Regions from separate parts of the Homo sapiens genome. Here regions 2, 3, 4, 5, 6 and 7 are each linked to region 1. Evidence: promoter capture Hi-C in 16 types of primary human blood cells and fetal thymus (Javierre and others, 2016). All regions are on one chromosome and are shown on one strand. Each heading gives the region's core, a stretch centred on a gene start or on the middle of the fragment in contact. The rest is flanking DNA. Distances are from core to core; before and after follow the strand shown. Region 1 holds the start of CALHM6 (calcium homeostasis modulator family member 6). Region 2 overlaps NT5DC1 (5'-nucleotidase domain containing 1). Region 3 overlaps NT5DC1 (5'-nucleotidase domain containing 1). Region 4 has its middle 6.1 kb from the start of KPNA5. Region 5 overlaps ZUP1 (zinc finger containing ubiquitin peptidase 1). Region 6 has its middle 6.6 kb from the start of TSPYL1. Region 7 overlaps RSPH4A (radial spoke head component 4A).

Region 1 (2,942 bases), core at 1-2,500:
TTTTATTCAGATATTCTCTTGACGGCAAATTAGATGCAAGGAGCCATTCTAGATTTTCTTAGGGTACTGTATATCTGGAGAAAAGTCACCGATTTTTCCCTCACCCCAGCGGCCCTGAGAAAGCTCGGCCTCTCGGCTCCTCCCAAACGCCCCCAGCGCCAGCGGCAGACCTGCGACTGAGCCTTCAGATCCTTCAGGAGGTCCTGCACGTCCGACGCCTTGGCCTGGTTGCACGGCACCAGCGGCAGCTCCGCGGCGCAGCTGCGGTTGCGGCCGAGGCACAGGCGCTGCGCGAAGGCCGCGCTCCCGGTGGCCGCGCACTCGTAAAAGGCGCCCCCGAGCAGCGCCACGGCCACCCAGGTGAGGGGCGCGAGCGCGGCGGCCGCGCTGATTTGCGTGCACACCAGGGAGCCGCGCAGCGCCGATCCGCAACTCGCGCGGGCGCTGGAGCAGCATCCGGTGAGCAGGCGCCACGTGCGTGCGCTCAGCACGTAGCCCAGGAGGAAGAGCGCGAGCGCCGGCACCAGCAAGAAGACCAGGCCGTAGGGCAGGTTCCAGGCGGCGCTGCACGGGCACTGGAATGCCACGGCGGAGAAGATGCGCTCCCCGCCCGCCGTCAGCAGGGTCACCAGGCCGTAGCCCAAGGCGCTGTGGTGCTTGACGTGCAGGTCCAGCACCGCCCGAAACTTCTCCATGAGCCTCGTCCCCCGGGGCGTCGCGCACAGGCCCAGATCCTTCTGCCTCTTCGTTGTCCTGCTTGTCAAATGGTTTTGGTGGGATGGGGACCGGGGCTTTCCACTCTGCGAGAAGCAGCCTTTTTTTTTTTTTTTTTAAAGGGAAGAGGGCTTCTCAGACCTTCCTAAAGTTTCACTTTCTCATTTCAGCCACACCACCTCTGGTTAACAGAACCAGGCAAGCAAACACCCCCAGGACCTTGACTTCTCTGGCACCCACCCCATTCCAAAGGCAGAGGCACCAGTTATCTTCCTCCCCCAATTCAGGAACTCTGACAGAAGGTTGACCTTGTTCCTTTATTACCACCAATCTGACAACGAACCAGGAAACTAACCTTCTTGACCCACGGCCGCCAGTTGGAAAAACTGGGAAATACCAGATTTTCCTCTATTGCAGCCACCCTAGTTACTAAGCCAGATCACAGTAAAACCAAATAATTATCAAAAAACTGATTACTTACGGGAAACATTATTCAAGGACAAATTTCTGGTTCCTCTTCCATAAGCTAAATCAGCAAAGTCCAGCTCAAGTTCTGGTACTTCTATGATGGGCGGCACCCTTTCCATCTCCCTACCGGACAGAGCCACCAGCCTAGTTCACACTGACTCTTCTCTCCTCTGCCTGATCTCCTTCAGGACATTAGACCAAATATACTGTATTGATTTACTCGTCAATACAATGTTCTTTTCTTTCAGATATGTCATAACACTGTCAATGCCTGGAGGAGAGTAAAATTCTGACTCTGACCACCAAGCTGATCTGCACAGAAGGGGATACATGATTATTCAAAGAATGCTAGTTGAACCCAAAATTTCAAACTGCAGCTACATCTATCTAATGTTGTTTCCTCCACCTTCAGTTTTCTCAAGCAGCGTTGTTCTGACACAAACACTGTAACCACTTTTGTGATATTGAGCCTTACTCTGTGTGACTCCAGACTGAGCTGAGGTGTGCTTGAAAGAACATGGGCTTTGAAGTCAAGTGCATCTTGTCTGTGGTGTGTTTAACAAGTATGCCCCTCTGAGACACAGCATCCTTATTTGTAAAAGAAGGATAATAGTGCCCACTTTTCAAGATTACTGACATGAGTAGATTGAGTAGCATATGTAAAGTGCCTTTACATATAGGATATGTCTGTTAAATGAATGATCAGTGTGAGAGTTTTCCCCTTAAAATGCAATTTGGGGAATAGACAACAAATAATTACATTGTACATAACCTAAGAATCTTGATGAATACTGAATTTTGAATTTTAAACGAGGATCAATTCAGTGGATAGTATTAAGTGACTCAATGACTCTGCTACCTTAAGAGAATTGGTGTACACCTTAGCTGTCTGCTTCACCACAAGGAGAGTATCTGGATATGGAGCTTGGGTGGGCAGTTCACAATGAAATGGTTCTTATTGGTGCCCATCCACCAGGCTTGCCTTATTTTATCTGGAAAGAATAGGTAGCCCATGGAACCAAGTGAATTTTTAGAGAATGGACAAGAAATGTATTATTCTTTTCTTAGTCCAACTTGCCTTCTTAACTACTCCCTCTCCAACACCACCAGCAGGGTGCCTAGCGTAGTGCCAAAAGCTGTCATTCCATAGTGATGTGGTAAATAGACATCTTTTTTCTATGTGTTTAGGGGCCAGCCCCAGATGAGGGTCTTCATGGTCATGCAGGAAAGTTGGGGCCCTCTTCTCTGAGATTAGACCAGATACTGCTAGGCTTCCTGTCAACTTGCAGCAAAGTTGCGTGTTTGAAGCGAATCACTTCTGCTCTGACTGTTATCTTTGTAATTTGTCATCTCCCAAGATAAATTTCTTCCCCTGTGCCTTGAGTAACTCTCCTCTTACTGCTGGACTCTTCTTCACCTCTACCATAATACTCTAAGATGTGTCCTCTCTCGTCCACCCTTTCCCATATTCCATCATGCAGAAACATCACTATATCCACAACCTTTGTGCAGATGGCTTTATCCAAATCTCCCCTAACCGAAACCTAATAAAAATGCATCCTTCTGTCTTCTTGAGTGAGATTAATTTATTCTCCCACATCTCTCAAACCAAGAGGGATGGCTGGCATTTTCCTGGTTACCTGCTGATAGCCATACCAGGGTTTTACCACTGTGCTATAATAGTTTATCATCCACTGAGGCTCAATCTAATCAGCACCATCTCCTCCTTCACCTCATTCCTATGGTCTGTTTTCATTCCC
Region 2 (2,942 bases), core at 282-2,781, 240 kb after region 1:
TAAAATACATGGCTCCGCACGGAAATGACTAAAGAGTGGCTGTACTCCAGGTATCTGTGGAGGAGTATAACCTACAACTCAGAGTCCCTCAATCATCGTCCAAAGATGAGAAACCAAATTCATGGAAAACTGAAGGATATACAGTTTACCACCTTCTAGAAAACCTAAAACCTGGACATTCGGTGAGCTATGAGCATACTGGTCCCCAATAACACTGCTTTGCTAAAATGTACTTGGTTGGGCTGCTGTCAGCAGAGATTGAGGTATGTCATGAGAAAAAAAATCAACTTGTCACTCAGCATTGTTTAAAATAATGATATGGTCATGGCTGACACTTTTAAAAAAGCCCTGGTCTAATTTGCTATCTGTATTTCATAAGACAATGAAAACTGAATGACTCATCACTCACCCAAGAATATATTCGCAGAGAAGTCTACAGTAATCACTGTGAGAACTGGTAATTAACAGAAGAATTTTCCCAGCATTCTTTAGCTGTCGAAGCCATTTTTTCACAGATTCAGGACAACTATGTAAATATCTGCCTGGATCTCTTTTTATTTCTGGAAAATATATTCCACAGTTTTCTGAAAAATAAAAATATCAATGAGGTTTTTCTTTTTAAACATTTTTTGACTAAATATATTCTCTAACAAGTTAATCTCTTTCAAATCTATAGATAAAACTAAAAGGATAAGAACAAGGTTTGACCGACCTAGCAATTATGCCAATACTACTTGCTTTTTAAGAATAGTTCTTTACTTGAAAACACAATATTGTTTGAAAATGTTAGTTGATAATATTCGCTGGCTATTTGACAAGAACTGATAAACTGTTAAAACAGGTAACACAAGAAACACAATATGATCAGCATTTTCAAATGCTGTAAGAGAAAACCTTACATTTGAAATATCAATTGTTACAAATACTCTTTTAATTATTCAATGAATATTTGCTGAATACAGACAAGAAACAAATCAACACTCAGATATTGCACCAGGATCACATCTTTTGCATAAATAGCCAAGAAGGGCGATGAGTTCCTCAGAGTCACAGTTTGCTATTTCAGATGGAATCTATACTAGGGGAGCCATTCTATAGCCTCTGAGAAGTGCTGAGATATCAAAATGGAAAAATCGGTGCAAAATAGGCCAGAACAGGCCAAAAGGCACTGTATTTGACAGGGAACAATGAATGACTCGCATCACTGAAGCGGGGTTGCTTGCTCTGCCCCTTTAGAGTGGCCACGGGGTCTGGCTGAGCTCCAGGGCAGATGGTGGCAGTGTTTCCAGATGTCCTGACCAGACTTACCCATAGTGCTTGACCCAATGCCTTTAAAGTTGTGGGTACTTAGCAGGCAATTGCAGATTTAGTTGAAATGTTACTAGATTCATAACACATACTGTTCTCAGAGCATGATAGAACTAGTAAGCAGATAAAAAGGATTCAAGATTTTACTTTCTCTAATTGTTAGGAAAAGGACACATGCATAGACAAAAAAAAAAAAAAAAAAAAAAAGGTTAAACAGCTTGTACTGAATGATAGAGTCTGCAATAGCTAGATATGGGATACATCCGTGACTCTCTCCAGTGTGAAACACTTGAAATACTTGGCAGTTATATTTCAAGAATATCAGGACATCAGGAAGAAGAGTTGTTTTTTTTTTTTTTTTTTTTTTTGAGACAGAGTCTCACTCTGTCACCAAGCTGGAGTGCAGTGGCATGATCTCTGGCTAACTGCAACCTCCGCCTCCCGGGTTCAAGTGATTCTCCTGCCTTAGCCTCCCTAGTAGCTGGGACTACAGGCGTGTGCCACCACGCCCAGCTAACTTCTGTATTTTTAGTAGAGACGGGGTTTCACCATGTTTGCCAGAATGGTCTAATGGTCTTGATCTCTTGACCTCACAATCCGCCCACTCTGCCTCCCAAAGTGCTGGGATTACAGGCATGAGCCACCATGCCTGGCCAGGAAGAAGAGTCTTTAAGTGAAACAAAAACGAACAAATAAAAACAAAAAACGGTAGCAAATATTGTGGTCTGCCTCCCCACATCCATCTCCCTCTTTGCTGGGGAGTGCTCTGATATTGTTTCGGGTTTCATCTTCCTCTGAGGGGGTCTGTGATGCTAGGAAGGGCAAGGGTCTCTATCAGTCTACACCTATCACAGTTATTCCCTCCTCCTGTCATTGAATTGTTTAGGAAGTGCTGGGGACCCAGGCATGGCAAATGAGACCTGAGGAGAACTTTGCTGCAGGATCCTGAAGTAATGTATACCACTGATAAAAATAAACCTATAAAGGGGGGAATATCCCCTCTTCTACTACTGGACTTTCCCATGATTATAAATTCTATGTAGAACTGCAGCGGTTATCATCAACACAAAGCACGAGTCTGATATACCAGAGATGGCGGAGTGGACATATGAAAGGAAACAAACCTGGGTCCCTGATGACATCACTGGGTTTCTGCTTTTGTTTCTGTTTTTGAGACAGGGTCTCGCTCTGTTGGCCAGACTGGAGTGCAGTGTGGCACGATCATGACTTACTGCAGCCTTAAACTCCTGGGCTCAAGTGATCCTCCCACCTCGGGCCTCTGAAAGTGCTGTGATTACAGGCATGAGCCACTGTGCCTGGCCACCACTGGATTTCTGATTAAGTCACTGACTAACTCTAACCACCACTGGAAGTACCATTCAACTTCTGGACAACCTCTGGTTGTGTAAAATAACTCAATTTAGTAATAGCTTAAACATTAAGGTTATTTATTATTTGCAACTTAAAGCATCATGATTCAGAAAATATATTGCATGAATATCATAACCAGACCAAAACTAACAAAAGAAATAATATTTTGCAATATGAGAATAATATTTAGAAGACCAAAAACAAAAACAAAGTTTTTGCTCTTTTTATATTTTGCCCTACAGGAACTTCTGTGTGTGAATCTC
Region 3 (2,942 bases), core at 133-2,632, 220 kb after region 1:
GCTTTTGGTCCCTGAAACAAGAGAACAGAATAATTAAAATGGTGATTAACTAATGTTCAATCTCATAATTTTTTTGTCTATTAAGTAAATAAAAACTTTGAAACCCTGTAGGAATCTACAAATAGGCTTTGGGCCCACATTAAATTTTTGGAACAGGAATAATATTTCCTCCTTATTATGAAGTATCCTTTATTTTAAACACAAACTAGCTTTTTATATGGTCAATTGGTTATTATCTGAAAACTAGCCCAAACAAAGCAACCTAGAAAACATAATTTTTTCCCTATAATAAAAATAACTCTCTATTCTATTATGATGATGATGATGTCTAAAGGGTAGTTAAAAAACAACTTGGTCTAATTTTCATATTTAGTATTTATTTTTTAGAAAGGAATGAGGATGGAATTATTATTTATTGCTTTCAATACAAATGGAACATGAAGTCAATAAAATTAATACAAAGTTTCAAATTATTAGTCTCTTTTTTTTTTTTTTTTTTTTAACATGATGGTATTCAGCCTGACCAGGACAATTTTGGAGTCAAGTAGTATAAAGATACTTTAGCTTTCAAACATAAATATTTGTCTTTCAAGGAAAGAGCTGCAGGGAACCCTTACCTCATATTTTCCTTTCTTCTCTAGAGGCTCTGACTCCTCAGGCCTCTGACTCCTCGTGCCTTCATCCCCTCTGAGTTCTTCCAGGATGAGGACTGTCTCCCAATTACTATAGTGACGAGCTGGGAAAATATCTGAATGCATGCTGTCACCAAAATAAACAACCTGTAAGACAGATAGCAGATGCTGTTTGAGGCACAGAATTGTGAAAGTGGCATTTATTTCATATAAGGAAGAAGAAAATTTCTCAACAGGCATCAGAGTATGACAATCAAAAATTGCATAAACATCTTCACTTATTTGAATAATCTCACAGGTGACCATCAACTTGTCTCATTTGATTCACAGGGTGCCAGATTTGTCTTAAGAAGTTATACAACACATTCACAGGTGGAAGACAGCATAAGGTGAAATAAGTGATTTTATTCAATTTTCCTAAAGAAGTGAACCTATATGTTTACATAGATGTTTACAATTATTAATAAAATGGCCCCTGCAGTTGAAGAGCTGGTGAGGTATTAGAGACAACTTGTTATAGTGGATTAGAGATTATTAAAAGTGCAAATCACAACCACTTTTCAAGTTTCTGGGCCCAACCCCAGACTGGTTGAAACAGAATCTGTGAGAGTGGGGCTGGGCATGTTGAATCTGGAAAGTTCCCTAGGTAGTCTGAGGCAATGGAGTCTGAGGACTCCATTGATTGAGTCCATACCTCTCAATTTTCAGATGTGAAAACAGAGTTAAGGGATATGAGAATCAGCATCTGCAAGTCAGACTGCTCCATCCATTAACCCTCAGGAGTCCCCAGGAGACTGTGGCATGGTGACAGCCAATGGAGCAGGGCTCTGTTACCCCACGATCTCTCAGCTCACAGAAATTCTGGTAAATATTTTCTTAGAAGAAAGGGTTCTGCTGTTAGAAATGCACCAATGTCCAACATCAACAATGTGATCATTCTGTCAAAAACAAGTGTATCTTTAAGCTAGTCTGTAGCATAATTTCAGTTGTTTGTTTTATATATGGAAACTTTTTGGATAGATTGTTATCAGGATAACATTCCACAGGCATCCTACACACTCATACACCCCCTAAATCTGTGGTGCCCTGCTTGGAATCCTTGCTCCTCTCTATCACAGATAGACAGCCTGTCTACATTGACAAAGGAAAGGCTTATTTAAGCAGAAGAATTAAGAGGAGAGATTTGGCAGTTCACAACTGCTTATGTCTGCAAGTGGGCACTGAGGACTTCTCCTCAACTGGGAAATACCTTGGGTTCAGGTTTGCCAGTCATTTTCTTCAGAAGTTCATAGAGGTGGACAGCGTTCCCTTGGGAGTACCAGCCAGGTTTATCCAGAGATGGCAGTGCCTCCTGCTCCTCATCATTCTCTGAAAATACAGTTTGACAATCATATACTTTTTAATCAAGTGAGAGTAGCCAGTTGGGCAGACCACACTTAGGGCATGGCTACAGGACATGTACAAACAAGAACCTTGTGGGGAAAGGAGCTGACATTCAGTGGTACCTACATATTATAAGGCCCTTATAGGTATATACTTTTTAATCCCGTGGCCTTCTTAATTGGGGAAAATAAGGTTCAAGGAAGTTATTTTGCCCAGGATCTCAATGCTGGTAAGTGATTTATTCAGTGATTAGACAGACATCTGCTTGACATCATGCCTCTGCTTGACATCATGCCCCTACTGCTACAAAACGGTTTACCAAATAAATAACACAATGAAAGTCATTAGGTGTTAATTTTTTAGAATTGAGGGTGAGGAAGGTAAGTTTTTAATTAGTAGTCTATCAGATTCAGATGTAAATTTTGCACCCTTGGTGCCTCAAATGCTTTACCCTAGTACCAGCTTGGGGTGGGTGGGGAATGAAAGGACTATCTGATGCCAAAGCACAAGTTTGTGGACCATTCCAAGTTGTCCTCTCCCAGCACATTACCTTCCTACTCCTGTTAAAGCAGGGCTAGTGAAAGAGGTAAATGTCTTTGCCTCTCTGAATTTTGCCGGCTATTCTATTACTTGTACGTGAGCTGAAAAGCTGAAGAGAATCTGCCTACCAGCATGATGATTAAGGAAGATTGAGTAAGGTTTTATGAAATACATGATATATCTATCAGCAGAGACTTTGGTAGCTGTTGATACAGCTTTGCAAATTGTATGGAGAAAAATAACCTCTTTTTTCTCACATCAACTGTATGATTTCTGATTTTAAAAAGGTTTATTCCCCCCACTTTTTTGGTCCTCTTTGCTGTGCCACTAAGAAGAATCTTATGAGATACAATCCTATGCTGGATACAGAGGTTGTGTATACAGAAG
Region 4 (2,942 bases), core at 230-2,729, 210 kb before region 1:
AACATTTGGCAGTTGCTTTGCATATACAGCCCTTTCACGGAACACAGGGAAACAGACTGAGATTCAAGATTTGCCACCTGATATTTATTGCAGAGTGCTCTTTGGGAATAATAACAGGAGTGAGGAAGCAGGATTCTACAGAGAGATAAATTATGTTGCATTATTAGCAACAGAGACTTCAGACAATCTTATAGGAAGTGCAGAAGCTGGGATGGCCCTTCAGAATTGTCACTGTTGAGGCTAGAGGCTCATGTTTCTATCACTGAATCAAGAAGTCTTTGGATATCACTGAATCAAATCCAGAGAGGAGGGTTAATCTTGGGTGAGGCAGCAGCTCCCTTTGACCAGAGTGCAGTTTCTGAAGTGGAACTTGGCCTAGAGCCCTCATCATTGGGGGAAGAAAATCCTTTAGTCCTGAACCAGAACTTGGGCAGTGTACCAAAGGTTCTACCACACATACTTTTTCAGTTTTCCAAAGATAAAGAAATGAATGGCCTTCTTTCAGCTTCATGCCTCTTCTTTCTCATCCTCCTTATTTAGTCTTCCTCCTTTAAGCAACCTATAAATGTTGGCGCCAGGCCTCTTACTTTGCTGCATTGCCTCTCTAGGTGATACAACATACTCCTGTATTTTTAAAAGCCATCTACCTATAAACCACTTTCTCCCAAATTCAAATTTCCATCCCTGACCTCTTCCTGGAGGTCTAAACTCATATATCAAACCTCCATTTGGATGTCTGATGGGCATCTCAAATTTAATAAGCCAAAACAGATTTTTTTATTCTATCCCATTCCACTTTATTTCTTTCTCAGGCCTCTTTATCTCTGTAATGATACAACTACGCAGCCAGAAACTCCAGTTAAAAAACTTATGAATCATTCTTTACCTTGCCCTTACCAGTGCCTCCTGTCTTTCGCTTCTAGCTCCAAAATAGTCCACATCTACACCTAGTCCATCTCTACTGACACTTCTTCTAGCATTCCATCATTTATTTCATAAACTGCAGTAGTATCCTAATTAAGCAATCTGTATCTACCTTGACTCCTTTATAATCTATTCCCTGTCCAGAAGGTGTAGTAATTTACAATTAAATTTTTATTTATTGTAATCAAATAATACAAATATATCATTTAAAGGGTCCAATAATAAGTTTATCGTGAAAATTAACACTTCCCACCTGACCATCCCCAGATGCCGCTCCCCAGAAGCTACTATTTTCAACTTGTTTAGGTATTCTTATTGGTATCTCTTTTCTAATTAAATATTTTAAAATCATACACTGCTATTTCTTAATTTGTAAAGTCATAGACATTTTCTATTGTTATAGATGTAAAATGAGAATTTATTACTCATAACTGCACTAACCTCCCAACATACACATTTACACATACTTCCTGATCGCACATCCTCCAATATAGTTCTATCAAAATTATTTTGGTTAAATCAATATTTAAATTTTTATGTAAAAATTACATTCCTTGTATAGTTTTTTATTGTTCTAAAATTAATTGCCTGTTTTCTGTCATTATCATTTGCTTAATTTTCTAACTACTCATCACTAACTCATCTTCAAACACACTGCTGGAGATCTGTATTAGTTTCCTGTTGCTGCTCTAACCAATTACCACAAACTTGCTGACTTAAAATAACATAAATGTATTATCTTACACTTTTAGAGGTCAGAAGTCCAAAATGGGTCTCACTGGGCTAAAATCAAGGTGTCAGCAAAGTTGTGTTTCTTCTGGAGCCTATAGGGGAGAATCCATTTCCTTGCCTTTTCCAGTTCCTTGAAGCTACCTACATTCCTTGGCTTCTGGACCCCTTTCAGCAATTACATCTCTCTGACCTCTGTTTCTGTTATCGCATCTCCTTTTCTAAGACTGACCTTCCTATCTGTCTCCCTCTCATGAGGACCCTTGTGATTACATTGTGCCTACCTAGATAAACCCCTCTTGTCAAGATCCTTAATCACATCTACAAATTCCTTTTGCCATGAAAAGTAAGATATTCACAGGTTCTGTTAATAAGGAAATAGAATCTTTTAAAAAAATTTAATATTAGAGACGGGGGGGGCGGGTCTCACTATGTTGGCCAGGCTAGTCACCAACTCCTAGCCTTAAACAATCCTCCCACCTTGGCCTTTCAAAGTGCTGGGATTACACGTGTGAGCCACCATGCCTGGCCAGGACATAAACATCTTTGAGGGACACTATTCTGCTTAACAGAATATATTTCTCTCAGTATGGTCATAAACATGAAGTGATCTGTCAGTTGCCTCTTTCCTCCCTCCCTCCCTTTCTTTTTCTTCCTTTCTGCCTTCATTCCTGTCTGTTCTCTCTCATCTTGGTAGAGTTTTTTATGGAATTCCATACGTTCTACTTTCTTTTTTTCTTTTCTTTTCTTTTCTTTTCTTTTTTTTTTTTTTTTTTTTTTGAGATGGGGTCTCAATCTGTCACCCAGGCTAGAGTGCAGTGGTGTGATCTCGGATCACTGCAACCTCTGCCTTCTGGGCTCAAATGATCCTCCAACCTCAGCCTCCTCAGTAACTAGGACCACAGGCACACGTCACCACGTCCGGATAATTTTTTGTATTTTTGGTAGTGACGGGGTTTCACCATATTGCCCAGGCTGGTCTCAAACTCCTAAGCTCAAGCAATCCGCCTGCCTCGGCCTCCCAAAGTGCTAGGATTACAGGTGTGAGCCACCATGCCCGGCCCCATACCTTCCACTTTCTTTGCTTCTTCCCTCATTTTGGTGGGAGCTTCCTGGGAAATAATAAGAAATAATGTTTCAGGAGAAATTATTATTAAGTCATGAATTATCATGTCATTTCATTGATAACTAATTTTCCATTGTTTTTGTTGTTATTCCTCTCTGTATCTCTTATTAGTTGGATGTAGAATCCAATTTCTCATTTGATTATTTTCCTTTCCTGTTTTTCT
Region 5 (2,942 bases), core at 125-2,624, 190 kb before region 1:
AAGGAAATTTCCCCCTAAAGCAGTTGCATGATGTTGCTAAGACAGTGTTGCTCTCCATCTGATATGTAACATATATACTAAAATGTACTAGAATGTTTATTACTTTCCTTTCTATTTTTTCTGTCCCCTACTCCACCTCATTCTTAAAGGGCTGCCTCAAATCTTGATCTCTTCATCAAAGTCTATGATATTAAAATCTACATTTAGCTTTCTTTCTCTGAATTCCTAGGGTACCCATTCATTCCATGCTACAACATTTAGTACTCAGTTATATACTATTTTAATTGTTGTTTTTCTTGAATTCAAGTCTTTCTAAGTTCTTTGGAAGTGGTTACAGTGATCAGTATTTCACCTTTTCATGGTGCAAGGCACAGCTACAACTATTGGTTCATTTAACTGTTTTTATTTATTGATCTTTTATTGTCTTTATTAAAGACAAAAACCCATTTTCTTCTAGGAAACCCTTCATTCAAGCAAAAAGAATTTAGTTATTGTCTTTGGTGCCACATGCTATGAGAAAGTTATGGGGCATATAATAAGATCTCCCTACCCATAGGCTTCACAGAGTCTGTAGAGTATGTAAATATACACAAAGAATTATAGTATTCTGTGACTGAATGTTGCTGGTACCTTGGGGACACAAAAATAGGGTAGAATCAGAAAAAGGGTCTATGAAGACAGTAGCATGTGAAGGATCTATAATTTTGAAACATAAGGAGAATATACTAAAAGCAGGAAAGGGGCCGAGTCAGATGTCCCTTGTCCTAACACCTTGTTTTTCCATATTATAGCACTTGTTATAGTTGGGGTCGATGACATTTTAAAGGATATTATCATATTTATCTTTTTGTACTTAGCATTTAGATAGTGCCAGGTGTATTAAAAAGTACTTAGCAAATACTGAATTTGAAAATTTAATAAAACTCTATGGGCCAAATTATGTTTAATGTGTTCAGTTAGGCCACAGCCAAAATTACAGCAAGAAGAGTAGTGTGAAATAAAGATAAGACAGTGGATAGCTTTCTGTAGACTTCATATAACATAGATTAGAACTATTCTAATTAGGTTTATAAGGCTATTAATAAGATTCCTAAACCTATTGTTCTGCCTTAAGAAAAGTTGTCTTCTGTTGTCTCAAACAAATTAATTAATCTCCCCAAATAGCAAAATGGAATATGTTACTAAAGGGTTGAAATTTAGCGTATTGGAGTATGAGATATGTTTATTATTCATGAAGTCAAGAGTTTTTAAATGAAAACATTTGTGTATTCTCATGCTTCGAAAATTGCAAAATCTGCAAAATAAAATCTTAAATTACAAAAAAATTAAAACTATTGGTAATAGGGAGCTATTAATATTTTTTGATTGGGAGCAAATTGATTAAGACTGAGTGATCTCCAGTAGTCTATACAATAAAATGGAGACACAAGAAGAACATTCATTCAACAGTTGTACTTTATGTGCTGGGCCCTGCAGATGCAGAAAATTTCAATGAACTGTAATAAATAATATGCTAGTGTTAGGAAACTTGGACTGTAGTAACAAGCAAGGACACAAACTAAGGTTATAGCAAGAAGAAGGTGAAGAAGATGGAATTAACAGGATTTAGGTATGGTGCGTGAAGGAGAGGTTGATATTAAAAATGTATGAGATAGCAATATAAAGGTGATAATGACTGCTTCTGAATCTCTTTTCTACTTTAGGAATTATTGAAGCACTTCATAGGTATTATCAGAATGCTGCCACAGATGTGAGACGGGTGTGGCTTTCTTCAGTGGTGGATCACTTTCATTCATCTTTAGGCGACAAAGGTTGGGGTTGTGGTTACAGAAATTTCCAAATGCTACTTTCATCATTATTACAAAATGATGCTTACAACGATTGCTTAAAAGGTATGTGAAATCTAGTACTCTGAACTTGTCATCTGATAAAATACATATGATATAGAATGATATAGCATACACAATTAATAGCTTTAACAGTTAGTGGATATTTATATAAGAAACCTGAATTCTGGTTAGAGGAAGAGAAAATGATAGAAGATGTCAGGAATAACTGTCTTAAAAACCGTAAAGTTCCCCGAGTACATAATACACTGCTAAATATTATTCAGTACTTTATTAACAGTCATGTAACATGTTTGCTTGTGTAATTTTAGGTATGTTGATTCCTTGCATTCCAAAAATTCAATCTATGATTGAAGATGCATGGAAGGAAGGTTTTGATCCTCAGGGGGCCTCTCAACTTAATAACAGGTTACAGGGAACAAAGGCCTGGATTGGAGCATGTGAAGTATATATACTCCTGACCTCCCTAAGGGTAAAGTATGTACCTTAAAACCTAAATAAATGTTATTTCCTTATCGGGGAGCTTTGTTTTGTAAAATTTTATTTTTTAGCAAAGAGATAGTTTAAAAATAAAATTAAGTAGCACTAAATTAAGTAGCAATGAAAATCAGCAGCCTATTCACTATCTTGTGCTCTTCTCTACCCTCAAGTTCTGTCTCTCAGAGGCAACTGTCACTTCCATTGTTTTTAAATGGTATGCTTTCATAGCTGTTTCTTGGTTTATGAGTTTCAGATAGTCTGTTTTAATATCTTATACCTGTTTACCTTCAATCCTTCTGATATGATTAAATCTTGGTTTTTATTAAAATCAGAGTTTACATCATTTTATAAAGTCAGATTTTATTATACAATTGTGTAAATATTGCTTGTTGCTGATTTTTTCTAAAATCATTTATAATTTTTCTTGAGTTAATAATTGTGTTTCCTTTTCTCTTTTACTATAATATGTGACGACATCATGGCCTCAAGTTTTTGCACTCTACCTGTCATGTAATCTGAGGCTCTCCTTATTCTCGGACACATCCTTCTTGAGCATTCTGTCCTCTTTGCTCCAATCTGGACTTTTTGCCTTCTAGATCTACAGCTATTGTCATG
Region 6 (2,942 bases), core at 264-2,763, 190 kb after region 1:
TACTTAAGATGCACTGAATATTTTGCAAAATGTACTGTGCAACACTTTCTTGATATAGGCAGGGTAGATTTTGATGCCAAATTGACACAGTTATATTGGTTTAATTTTTAGTGACTTTTAAGACCAATATATGCATATTTTCTAAAGTAAAATGCTCTTTTTTTTTTTTTTGAGACAGAGTTTTGCTCTTGTTGCTCAGGCTGGAGTGCAATGGCACCATCTCGGCTCATGGCAAGCTTCCGCTCACCGCAACCTCTGCCTCCTGGGTTCAAGCGATTCTCCTGCCTCAGCCTCCCCAGTAGCTGGGATTATAGGCATGCGCCACCACGCCCGGCTAATTTTGTGTTTTTGGTAGAGAGATGGGGTTTCTCCATGTTGGTCACGCTGGTCTCAAACTCCCGACCTCAGGCGATGTGCCTGCCTCGGCCTCCCAAAATGCTGGGATTACAGGCGTGAGCCACTGTGCCCGGCCAAATGCTCTATTTTTAGTTTACAAATGTACATGATGTTCAGAAAATATTTTCAGTCGTATTTTAACAGTTGGCTAGCAACAGAAAAGGAAAATATCTGAGTCTAGCTCTGCATTAAGTCAGTTCAATGAACGCGTACTACTTGAAAAAGCAGCCGGGCAGGGTGGCTCACGCCTGAAATCCCAGCACTTTGGGAGGCCGAGGCGGCTGGATCACCTGAGGTCAGGAGTTCGAGACCAGCCTGGCCAACATGGTGAAACCCCGTCTCTACTAAAATTACAAAAATTAGCTGGGTGTGGTGGCAGGCGCCTGTAATTCCAGCTACTCGGGAGGCTGAGGCAGGAGAATCGCTTGAACCCAAGAGGTGGAGGCTGCAGTGAGCCAAGATTGAGCCATGGCACTCCAGCCTGGGGACAAGAGAGACTTCGTCTCAAAAAAAAAAAAAAACAAAAAAACATACTTTTTGAAAATTAGTGGTCTGTAATTGTAATCTTGCAGTAGTTGTTTATTGAATACTAGCATAAGTAAGGATTGAATGGGATAGTAAAGGTTGTCTTTGCCCTTGAGGAACTCAGGCTCATTGAGGGGGGTACCGTTCCTTGAATGTTTCCTTTTTTTCTGCAGCAAATACACACATTCAAAACATCTACTGCACACAAGCAAACTCAGAGAGGACCAGCCTGGCTGAGAGGAGTTGACCATCCCCCTCAGGACTGACTTCCTTTCCTTCAACATTATTATATAATTAAAGTCCTAGACTATATAGAAGTGACAGGTATGCTCTCTATGCATTTATTATTATGGGAGGTGTTTTACTTGGAAGCAGTACTTTCTCCATGTTAAGTGCTTTGAGCTCTGAAGGGCCATCTTAATCCATTCTCTCTGACCTCAGAGGTTGTCAAGACCTATAGAAGAGTTTCTATCAAGCCACATTAGGAAAAATGTGGATGTCTACTTTTTGGCTTCACTTTTTTTAGGATTTGTATTTAAGGTAATTTCTTTGAGAACAGGTAAAAGGAAATGGTTCAATTAAAAAGGAAAGGGTCATTTAAGTAAGTTACTAATTTTTGTGAACACCTATATGTCTTAGATATGACCTGATGGGCAGAGAAGGCATACTAGCTTTAAATTAGGATTAAATCCCGGTTTTACAATTACCATGTATTGCATTTCCCAAAATAAACTACTCTGAATCTTGGTTTCCTTATCCATAATGTAGGGATGATAAAACTTGCAGTATAAGCTAATGTTTTAGGATGCATTTGGAGACTGCATTATAAGGTTACAGAGAAGATAACAACAGAAACATTTGAGAGCTTACTTTGCGCCTGACACTGTGCTAAGAGATTTCAAGTATTAATATAGTTATAATATAGAGGTTAGACAGCAAGCATCATGTCTAGCATATAATATGCAATCAATTAAAATTTCCATTTGTCTTCCTCTCAATTTTAATTTCTCATTTAATTTACATTCAGACAAATAGTCATCTAGCTTCATGGTTCTCAAACCTGGCTGATCATTATATATAGCTTTGAGCTTTCAAAAAATACTGATGCCAAGACTCTACCCTGAACCAATTAAATTACAGCCTAAAGTGCAGCTGAGTTTGAGAATCATGGCTTACCTTTTCTTGAACTCCTTAAGTTAGGGAATACATACTCCCTTCCCAGTTTTGTCAAATTGATTCAAATTTGCCACCTTATAAACATCCAGCTATTGCAAAGAGCCTGGTATATCGTAGAGTTTCAGTATATCTATTTCATAGTTTCCCCCCTGTGGTCTTGCAGAATGGAATTAACCTGAATTCAACAAAAGAGGTCTTTAAAATTCATAACAGCAGGTGTCGTCTGTCTTTGAAATTCCCTTGCCAAAAAAGGAAATGATTTCTTAGTGATATGCTTTACTTCTGTTGATCACTATTTGCTCTTTTAAAGTGTCCAAAGATGTTTTAATAGATACTTGGTATTTGTTGTTTTCTTTAATAAAGTATAATTTACATGTAGCACAGGAATGGTCATAGCAGTTTTATTTATAACAGCCCCAAACTAGAAACAGCCCAAATGTTCACCAACAAGTGAGTGAATGAACAAATTATGGTATATTCATACAATGGAACACCACTCAACAATAAAGAGGAACAACCTATTGATCATCAACATGGATGAATCTCAGAGACATGTTAAGTGAAAGATGTCAAAGGAATATATATTATATGATTCCATGTATATGAAATTCACTAGCATAGAAAACTTTTTTATGGTGATAGAAATCCCAGGAATGGTAGCCTCAAGGTTGAGGGGAGTAACGGTAAAGCTTGAGGACATTTGCAGGGGTAATAGTGCTCCATATCTTGAGTTGGGTGATAACACAGGTGTATCCACTTTTCAAAACTTGTCCAAGTATATATTTAAGATTTATGCATTTTAGTGTAAGTAAATTATACCTCAATAAATAGATTTTAAAATATTA
Region 7 (2,942 bases), core at 216-2,715, 170 kb before region 1:
AGCTAACCATATCTGTGCAAAGCAAATCATTTTTCCCTAATCAGTTCAAATCAATTTCTGTAGGATGAAAGAGGAGTCTGAGAAGACTTTTTGAGAAGTAACAAAAGAGTTAAAAATTTACCAGCCTGGCTAACATAGTGAAACCCCGTCTCTACTAAAAATACAAAAAAAGCCAGGTGTAGTGGCGTGCACCTGTAGTCCCAGCTACTCAGGAGGCTGAGGCAGGAGAAACACTTGAACCCGGGAGGCAGAGGTGGCAGTGAGCCGAGATCACACTACTGCACTCTAGCCTGGTGACAGAGACTCCGTCTCAAAAAAAAAAAAAAAGAAAAAAAAAAATTGAGTGTTCCTACAGTTTTAAGCAGGTGACAGAATTATGATACTATCTCAAGCAGGAAAAATGAATATATATGCTATAAAGTGTTTGCACACAATATCACAGTCCACACCATAGGTAATTACAAAGGTTTAAGAATACATGCTGAGATCAGTTCTTACAAAGGTTAAGAATACATTACTCTAGTGACTATCAATATTTTTTGTCTTCATACCCCTTGACACTCTTTAAAAAGTATTGATGTTTCCAAGAATTTCCTGTGGGTTATATCTTCCAGTGTTTGTCGTATTACAAATTAAACCTGAGACCATTTATTTATTTATTTTAATTGTTTTACCTCACCTGGACCATGTGAAACCTGAGCCCTTTTAAAAACAGGAATGTACAAACACATATTCCATTATCCATAACCCTCAGAACAATTATGCAATTGCATGTTATTTAGCCTCTGGAAAATCCTGTGAGTATCTTTCAATAAAAATGCTAATATTTCTACCTATGAAATTTCAAGCTTGATTTTCAAGATTGAGATTTTGCAGTTGAATAATTTCTTACATGTGTATGTATATACACACATAACACAGAAAAGTGTAAAATTAGTCCCATATAAGGGGTGTGTGTGTATCAGTGTCACATAAAACCAGGCTAATTTTATGTTTATTAGTCATAATCATCTTCCTCATCTTCATCTTCCTCAGATTCTTCATTCTCAGCTGCGAGTAGAACTGCTTCTTGTGCAGCCCTGAAAGCCTGCTCCTCCTCCACACTAGGATCATCCATTTCTGTAATTTCTGGTCCACTGGGGTATTCTTGATAAACTGGTGGTGGAACTGGGGGTGTATAATTGTCTGGACTATACTTATGACCCCAGCCTATGTAGAAATTTTCAAACTTTCTATAAGTAAGAAAAAGAAGAAGAAAAAAAGATCATTATATAATTTCTCAGAAAAACTGACCCTTCTGTAATATTAAAGTGCTTAGAATATCATGGTCCTATAATTTAAAAAAGCAATACATGTAAAATGCTAGAAGTGAAATATTCCTCAATGATTCTTCTACCACAGGGAATTGTTTTCATCCAAACTGCCTAAGCTGGTTAAAAAAAAAAACCATGGGGCCAGATACTGTTAAAATGTACCCTACACCTAGACCACAAGCAAAAGCCTTTCTTCCTTCAATTATTTTCAGGGGAGGAAAAAAAAAAGTTACTACCTTCCACAAAGTTAGAAAGATATAAAAATAGCTAACTGTGCAAACTCCTGGTTGGGCAAGGAGTTGGGCTTGTGGTTAGAAACCTATGTGTTACTTTTTTTTAGGCATGACCATAGGCAATCACAAAGAGTTTACCTGGCACATCAGACTTGGAGTACAATGCACTGCTGTCTTTACGGGAAGTTGCAGTCAAGGACGCTGGCCCCTTTGGCTCGTCATGCTCTTCAATGTTTGCATTCCTAGACCAGGTGCTTCCGTTCCTAGGTCTCTTTATCTGAGGCCTTCAGCAGAGGCCTTTCCAGCCCCTCCTTTCTCTGCTCTCTGTGCTCAGCACTTTTTCACTTCTAGCCCTCTCATCCTCCTCTTGGTCTCCAGGTCTGTAAAACTGCAGGAGCCGTTTGAGGATTCCCTTGTCAATGAGATGACCCCAGCACCTCCACATCTATGATAGCCATATCTGTGCTGATCCACCTGACTCTCCAATAGAGGGCCATTCCATGGGGGAAAATGGAACAGGGGGATGTCAAAGCTTTCTCTTGTTTATACTATCACAGTAAATGATTAAAGGCTTAACTCTCATTTTTAGCTTGTTGCTTTAATGGCTACTCTAACACCTGGCCGCTCAGCTTTCTCTCCAGAAATGATCTGAGATTTAAACTAAACATTGCTTAGAAATACCTCCATTAATCTACTAAGTGAATAAGTCATTACCCAAATAATCAATGATGAAAAACCATATTTTATTTCAACAAATTGGATAATTAAGATGAAAGGGTAAAAGTCCAAATTACTACTTAATGTCCTGAATTTGATGTTTTATTGTGTATCACAGATGTTATTTTAATAAATTTTATGCCACACACACATAATATGCCAAAGATGAGTTAAAACGATAGTAGCAGCTGGGCATGGTGGCTCAAACATGTAATCCCAGCACTTTGGGATGCTGAGGCGGGGCGGATCATGAGATTAGGAGTTCAAGACCAGCCTGGCCAACATGGTGAAACCTTGTCTCTACTAAAAAAAAAAAAAAAAAAAAAAATACAAAAATTAGCTGGGCATAGTGGTGCATGCCTGTAATCCCAGCTACTGGGAAGGCTGAGGCAGGAGAATGGCTTGAACCCAGGAGGCGGAGGTTGCAGTGAGCCGAGATCATGCCACTGCACTCCAGCCTGGGTGACAGAGCAAGACTCTGTCTCAAAAAAAAAAAAAAAAAAAAAAACACGAAAAAAAAAACCAAAGAAACAACGATAGTAGCTTAACATTCTAGTGGTTATTTATAATTTCCAGAGCTTAACTAATCACAGAAATGGCTTTGTAAGTGGTCAGATACTTACTTGCCATTGGAGAAGGCATATGCTCCAGGCCAAAGGTTGGATTGAAGGACTGCAAT

Evidence for each region. Contacts are between HindIII fragments. The CHiCAGO score rates a contact against its expected background, and 5 or more counts as called.
Region 2: a fragment that was not itself captured here is called in contact with the fragment with the promoter of CALHM6 in region 1 in 8 of 17 cell types (total B cells, naive B cells, monocytes and 5 more); the score reaches 11.4 in total B cells.
Region 3: a fragment that was not itself captured here is called in contact with the fragment with the promoter of CALHM6 in region 1 in 4 of 17 cell types (total B cells, neutrophils, monocytes and 1 more); the score reaches 8.9 in total B cells.
Region 4: a fragment that was not itself captured here is called in contact with the fragment with the promoter of CALHM6 in region 1 in 2 of 17 cell types (monocytes and total B cells); the score reaches 8.5 in monocytes.
Region 5: a contact is called between a fragment that was not itself captured here and the fragment with the promoter of CALHM6 in region 1, in 2 of 17 cell types (naive B cells and neutrophils). The highest score is 6.3, in naive B cells.
Region 6: a fragment that was not itself captured here is called in contact with the fragment with the promoter of CALHM6 in region 1 in 9 of 17 cell types (naive B cells, total B cells, monocytes and 6 more); the score reaches 19.0 in naive B cells.
Region 7: a contact is called between a fragment that was not itself captured here and the fragment with the promoter of CALHM6 in region 1, in 3 of 17 cell types (neutrophils, naive B cells and total B cells). The highest score is 6.0, in neutrophils.

What each region holds. Positions count from the first base shown.
Region 1 is chr6:116,459,683-116,462,624 of GRCh38, reverse strand. It overlaps CALHM6 (calcium homeostasis modulator family member 6), which reads right to left and starts at 1,250. Exons shown (of 3, transcript NM_001010919.3): 1 at 1,196-1,250; 2 at 171-753. The coding sequence starts at 695. It overlaps CALHM6-AS1 (CALHM6 antisense RNA 1), which reads left to right. Exons shown (of 2, transcript NR_174951.1): 2 at 1,431-2,147. RefSeq lists a silencer at 185-264 and enhancers at 645-724, 735-844. The HindIII fragment of the contact is 9,761 bases long and covers 1-2,942 here.
Region 2 is chr6:116,218,696-116,221,637 of GRCh38, reverse strand. NT5DC1 (5'-nucleotidase domain containing 1) reads right to left here. Exons shown (of 12, transcript NM_152729.3): 7 at 410-584. Among named protein-coding and RNA genes, the nearest start is that of TSPYL4, 34 kb to the left of the region's middle. The HindIII fragment of the contact is 3,347 bases long and covers 1-2,942 here.
Region 3 is chr6:116,236,024-116,238,965 of GRCh38, reverse strand. NT5DC1 (5'-nucleotidase domain containing 1) reads right to left here. Exons shown (of 12, transcript NM_152729.3): 9 at 1,882-2,000; 10 at 618-779; 11 at 1-11. Among named protein-coding and RNA genes, the nearest start is that of TSPYL4, 17 kb to the left of the region's middle. The HindIII fragment of the contact is 3,124 bases long and covers 1-2,942 here.
Region 4 is chr6:116,673,671-116,676,612 of GRCh38, reverse strand. No RefSeq gene overlaps it. Among named protein-coding and RNA genes, the nearest start is that of KPNA5, 6.1 kb to the left of the region's middle. The HindIII fragment of the contact is 7,093 bases long and covers 1-2,942 here.
Region 5 is chr6:116,650,954-116,653,895 of GRCh38, reverse strand. ZUP1 (zinc finger containing ubiquitin peptidase 1) reads left to right here. Exons shown (of 10, transcript NM_145062.3): 6 at 1,704-1,892; 7 at 2,159-2,324. Among named protein-coding and RNA genes, the nearest start is that of ZUP1, 16 kb to the left of the region's middle. The HindIII fragment of the contact is 5,992 bases long and covers 1-2,942 here.
Region 6 is chr6:116,271,810-116,274,751 of GRCh38, reverse strand. It overlaps a transcript of DSE not described here. Among named protein-coding and RNA genes, the nearest start is that of TSPYL1, 6.6 kb to the left of the region's middle. The HindIII fragment of the contact is 2,550 bases long and covers 239-2,788 here.
Region 7 is chr6:116,630,497-116,633,438 of GRCh38, reverse strand. RSPH4A (radial spoke head component 4A) reads right to left here. Exons shown (of 6, transcript NM_001010892.3): 5 at 2,887-2,942; 6 at 454-1,232. The coding sequence ends at 998. All of the region lies in intron 1 of LOC124901386 (a long non-coding RNA gene), which reads left to right. Among named protein-coding and RNA genes, the nearest start is that of RSPH4A, 15 kb to the right of the region's middle. The HindIII fragment of the contact is 1,230 bases long and covers 851-2,080 here.